2 separate regions of the Homo sapiens genome follow, and region 1 is linked to region 2. Evidence: promoter capture Hi-C in human tissues and cell types (Jung and others, 2019). All regions are on one chromosome and are shown on one strand. Each heading gives the region's core, a stretch centred on a gene start or on the middle of the fragment in contact. The rest is flanking DNA. Distances are from core to core; before and after follow the strand shown.

What was found. The method cuts DNA at HindIII sites, captures the fragments that hold promoters and counts their contacts. A contact is called where the count stands out against the background at its distance.
Region 1: a fragment that was not itself captured here is called in contact with the fragment with the promoter of ACTBL2 in region 2 in 1 of the 25 tissues and cell types used here (dorsolateral prefrontal cortex).

The regions. Positions count from the first base shown.
Region 1 is chr5:58,175,862-58,178,666 of GRCh38, forward strand. No RefSeq gene overlaps it. Among named protein-coding and RNA genes, the nearest start is that of LINC02101, 55 kb to the left of the region's middle. The HindIII fragment of the contact is 4,380 bases long and covers 1-2,805 here.
Region 2 is chr5:57,481,341-57,484,242 of GRCh38, forward strand. ACTBL2 (actin beta like 2) reads right to left here and starts at 1,471. Exons shown (of 1, transcript NM_001017992.4): 1 at 1-1,471. The coding sequence starts at 1,367. The coding sequence ends at 237. All of the region lies in intron 1 of RMEL3 (enriched in melanoma 3), which reads left to right. The HindIII fragment of the contact is 3,416 bases long and covers 1-2,902 here.

The DNA of each region.
Region 1 (2,805 bases), core at 230-2,729, 690 kb after region 2:
AGGGCCGTGAGGAAGAATAGGTTTCAGGCTTCTCCCCTAGATTTTGGTGATTTTTTAGTAATCTTCGGCATTCCTTGGCTTATAGAAGCATCACCATGATCTCTGCCTTGATGTTCATATGACATTCTCCCTGTGTGTATCTCTTGCTTTCTTCTTTTTTGAGGGTACTAGTCATACTGGGTTAGTCCACCCTAATGACCTCATTTTAATTTGATTACCTCTGTAAAAACCCTTTCTCCAGATAAGGCCACATTCTGAGTACTTCAGCATGCAAATTTCGAGGGTGACACAATTCAGCCCATTACATACATAATAAATATAATATAATAAAGTAATATAATAGCAAAAATGTGTGCTTATTTATTATTAATTAATTTAAAAGTATTTATTGAGTACCCACTGTATCCAAAAATCTACACTAAGATACAGTGGCAAACTGGAGAGTCATGGTCCCCATTCTAAGCAAGCTTTCTTTCTAATAGGGGAGTGAGATAATAAACAAATAATTATAAAATTAATAGCTTAATGTATTTATAAAAAGTGCAGTGCCTTGTATATCAAGAAGTAGCAATCTAGTCTGGAAAGGCCAGAAAGTTTCTTTATTATAGATAATATTACTGGCCAGGCGCAGTGGCTCATGCCTGTAATCCCAGCACTTTTGGAGGCTGAGGCGGGTGGATCACCTTAGGTTCGGAGTTCGAGCCCAGCCTGGCCAGTGTGGTGAAACCCCATCTCTACTAAAAATACAAAAACTTAGCCAGGCATGGTGGCGGGCACCTGTAATCCAAGCTACTCAGGAGGCTGAGGCAGGAGAATCATTTGAACCCAGGAGGCAGAGGTTACAGTGAGCCAAGGTGGCGCCATTACACTCTAGCCTGGGCAACAAGAGTAAAACTCCATCTTGAAAAAAAAAATATATATATATGTATATAATATATAATATATATATATATACACACACACACACAGACACACACACACACACATATATATATATATATACACACATATATATAATTAATATTGGGTCTCATATCTAATCTTCATTGATTAAACTATAAACCATTGAAGGGTAAAGCCTGTGTTTTAAATTTCTATGCTGCCTCCAGAGCCAGCTAATGTAGACTTTAAATAGTGTCCTGAAATACTTTTTTTCATGAATCACTCAAAAGCAATTAGCATTTATTAAATCCTTTTGGATTTTCACAATGTTGTGTGTTTATTATTTTTATATCTGCTCCATGCAGTTTGTCTATGTGATACTTTATTAGGCCTATATTAGAATTTACAATGTATAGTCCCCTTCCCTAGTTGTTTAATTTACATGGGCTTCATTTTATGGTCCTGGGAAACAAGAAATAGGTCTGTAATAGTTTAGATAGACTTTTCTTTCCCCAGCATATAGTGTAGTATTGTGCTTAAAACATTTTTACTCAAAAACTACTTACTTGATGGGCTGGCTAATTAATGAAGTTGGCCAGAAAACTGTCACCCATTTCAATGATGGAGGAAAACTAACATGCTAAGAGGGTAAGTGACATTTAAATATCTTGTAAGGGATGGTAAAATAAGATTCTTTGTGTCCTGGCAGATAAAGATTTCTGCTTCTTTTTGAGTTTCTGGTTGCAGATATTTCTTTTCCTATTACGCACTTATGGGAATAATGAAGATGTCTTGAAACATGGCTACTTTTTGCACATATGAGACAACTGGGATAAGATTCACTCCAAAACTCCCGATGATTTTCCTCCCCTTCAAATCAGCAAGCAGTGCAGGCTTCTCAAGGGGAAGTATGGGAAACAGAGATAGCGGGTACCCTCTCAAAGAGCAAGCGTCTCAGAAAAGATGATGTGTCAAAACAGAGAAATCAGGAATTGAATTGTACCACTACCCAAAATGCCCATATTATGACCAGTTTTGCAATGAGTAGGTCTCTGATATATATGCTTAGAAAACTCTCTTACATTTATACATATTGATGGAAAGAGTTACCATAAAGTAACGCTCATATGTCGTATGTGCAAAACACAGCTAATTTGAAAATCAATTTTTCTCATATTACTTGCAAATTAACTCTTTTTTTTTTTTAGATAGTCTTGCTCTGTTGCCCAGGCTGGAGTGCAGTGGTGCAATCTCAGCTGACTGCAACCTCCGCCTCCTGGGTTCAAGCGATTCTTGTGCCTCAGCCTCCCGAGTAGCTGGGACTACGGGCGGACGCCACCATGCCCAGCTAATTTTTGTAGTTTTAGTAGAAACGGGGTTTCAGTATGTTGGCCAGGCTGATCTCGAACTCCTGACCTCAAGTAATCCACCCACCTCAGCCTCCCAAGGTGCTGGGATTACAGGTATGAACTACTGCACCCGGCCAGATGAACTCTCTTAATAATAATACTATATCATTATTACTTTGCTAGCTGTAGTTGGAACTACAAGTTGTAGCAGTGATTATTAAAATTTCTTGTTAATGGGACAAAAAGAGCTAAGGTTTTATCACCAAGGACTGACAAAATAGTTCTAGGATCCATTGACAAGAGAAAACCCATACCCCTACCTAGGATAGGAGGCTGGAAAAGATTTGGTCAGTAGGCTAGAAGAAGTTTGTTATTGAAATAAGTAGTAAAGATGACGCCTAGATGGATTCATTGGTTCAAGAGTTTAAGAGAAATAGAGTACAAGAGTATAACTACATGGCCTTCTGAAGAGACACTAGACAATGATTAGAAGTAGGTAATACAAGGGTCTAAGGCAAGGATGTAATGGGTGGTAAAGGATGAGGAACAGGCTAAACTAGAGCAGCTGAACAGA
Region 2 (2,902 bases), core at 221-2,720:
AACAGTATAGGCAAAGAAAAAGGAATATGGTATTAGAATTCACCTTCACTTGATGGAGAACCGGATGTGGTTATCTGGGTAAGAGCCCAGGTTACTTGGATGGAGAGATGGGTTTGCTGGTTTACACTAGGAAGAGTGACGTATTTACCTCGATTCTACTGAAAGCGGATAAAAGCAGTACCATCACTGTGACCTAGGAAAAGGGAAAATGTAAGCCCACTAATATGGAAGCCCATTCAGAAACATTTTCTGTGAACGATAGGAGGACCAGCCTCATCATATTCCTGCTTACTGATCCACATCTGCTGGAATGTGGACAGGCTGGCAAGGATGGAGCCCCCAATCCAAACAGAATACTTCCGCTCTGGGGGAGCTATGATCTTGATTTTCATGGTGCTGGGTGCCAGGGTTATGATTTCTTTCTGCATCCTGTCAGCAATGCCTGGGTACATGGTGCTCCCTCCAGATAACACGGTGTTGGCATAGAGATCCTTGCGAATATCCACATCGCACTTCATGATAGAGTTGAAGGTTGTCTCATGGATCCCACTGGACTCAATGCCCAGAAAGGAAGGCTGGAAAATGGCTTCAGGGCATCGGAAGCGTTCATTCCCAATGGTGATCACCTGCCCATCAGGAAGTTCATAGCTCCGTTCCGGTGAGGAGGATGCGGCTGCCCTGACCATCTCCTGCTCAAAGTCCAGGGCTACGTAGCACAGCTTCTCTTTGACATCTCGCACAATCTCCCGCTCAGCAGTGGTGGTGAAGTTATAGCCTCGCTCTGTCAGGATCTTCATGAGGTAATCAGTCAGGTCTCTCCCTGCCAGATCCAGGCGTAGAATGGCATGAGGCAGGGCATAACCTTCATAGATGGGCACGATGTGAGTGACCCCATCCCCAGAATCCATCACGATGCCTGTGGTCCGTCCTGAGGCATAGAGGGACAGCACAGCCTGGATGGCGACATACATGGCTGGTGTGTTGAAAGCCTCGAACATGATCTGAGTCATCTTTTCCCGGTTGATCTTGGGGTTCAGGGGTGCCTCGGTGAGGAGGATGGGATGCTCATCTGGTGCCACACGGAGCTCATTGTAGAATGTGTGGTACCAGATCTTTTCCATATCGTCCCAGTTGGTGACCACTCCATGCTCGATAGGATACTTCAGGGTCAGGACGCCTCTCTTGCTCTGAGCCTCATCTCCCACGTAGCAGTCCTTCTGGCCCATGCCTACCATAACGCCCTGGTGTCGAGGACGCCCTATCATGGAGGGGAACACAGCCCGGGGGGCATCGTCACCACCAAAGCCTGCCTTGCACATCCCTGACCCATTATCCACTACCAAGGCAGACAGCTCATTGTCAGTCATGGTGCTGGCTGAGATCTTCCAGACGAGTGAACAGGACAAGTGAATAGACAGTGAGTAAGAGAAAGTGAACAGGCCTAAAACACTCCAGAAATGCTTTCAGACACGGGAGGCTGCACCGGGACCACAGGTATTTAAAGGAACACACTGACTCCGCCCATGTCCTACTCCACCAGTTCCCAGCATTTCTGGATGAGGTCATCTCTGAGGTATTAATGATGGTGATGATTACATAAACAATTAGATCTTTCTACATAAAGAGAAAATTGGCTGCCAAGTGGTCAAATCTCAGGTTCCTGTAATTAGGCAACCCACACATGACCGTCAGCCTGCCTGGTGAGGTCTCTAGATAACTATGATGATGCAGTGGGGGATATAAAAGCAAGATGAAAGAAAGCTGGTGCTAGGTATGGCAACACTGCTGGGAGGAAGGCTCCCTCCTTAGCGTCCCTGAGGATTCACTTTTCCTACACTAGCTTACCTTTTCATTCTTAAGATACTGTTCTGATGAGGGGTCTTACCCTGCAATCTTCACTTTTTCAAGATTTTTGTTTCCATTAGATTCCTAATCCCACAGGGTGTCATCATCGTAGAGACTGTTTTAGTAAATGAAAATAATAAATGGCTAAGGATGGCCTGATGGCTGTAATTACAATGCACTTGTGTCAAGCAAAATGTAGAGATATTTAATAGACTTCTAATCCATCAGAGATCAAGCGAAAGGAATAGAATGATTGCTAAAGTTAACCCATATAGATACTTTTTTCTGATATAAATTTCTAACAACCAAATTTCATTAAACATTTACTGTGTCTAGACATTGTTCATAGAACCAGGTTCATTGGGTCCATGTTAATTGTATAATGACTGAATGTCAACTATTTTGCATGATTTATTAAGATGCAGGTTATAAAAATTTATTTATTTGCAACAACTCTTGAGTTCTGCAACAATGGACAAAATGAAGTGATAAGACAAATTTGAAAAATTATATATTTAAACTAATCCTTAAAACATTTTGATCTTCAAGATACATATACTATATTATAACATTAAACCTCTATGTAGTTATTAAAATCTATACAATTAGAATTATACTAGCTTTCCTTCCATTTCAAGATATATTACACCCTGATCACTTCATAGCAACAATTTGTTTGGGTTCCATGTTTCATATAGAAATACAGACTACCTGAAAAGATGTGTATGATGGTAAAATGTAGGACATCAGCAATGTGTTACAGAGAAATAGCATTTAAGAAAGCTCATTACTTCTGCTCCCCTATGTGTTAGGCGAATAGAATATAATTATCTTTGTGAGCTCTTGTAAAGCAAAGAAATTTTCCATGTCTACATCTGAGTTCTCCAAAATAATCTTTATTTGGGTTCATCATTCATTCATTTACCCAATAAAGCTTGCTTTGTAAGAGGTAGCACAGCCCCTATTTACTGGACAAAAAACACCCTCCAGCTCAAGGCCAGGAGAACTAACCTGAGTCTTTGCCCAGTGAGCCTCTTGGAGAGTCATGGTGTAGCAT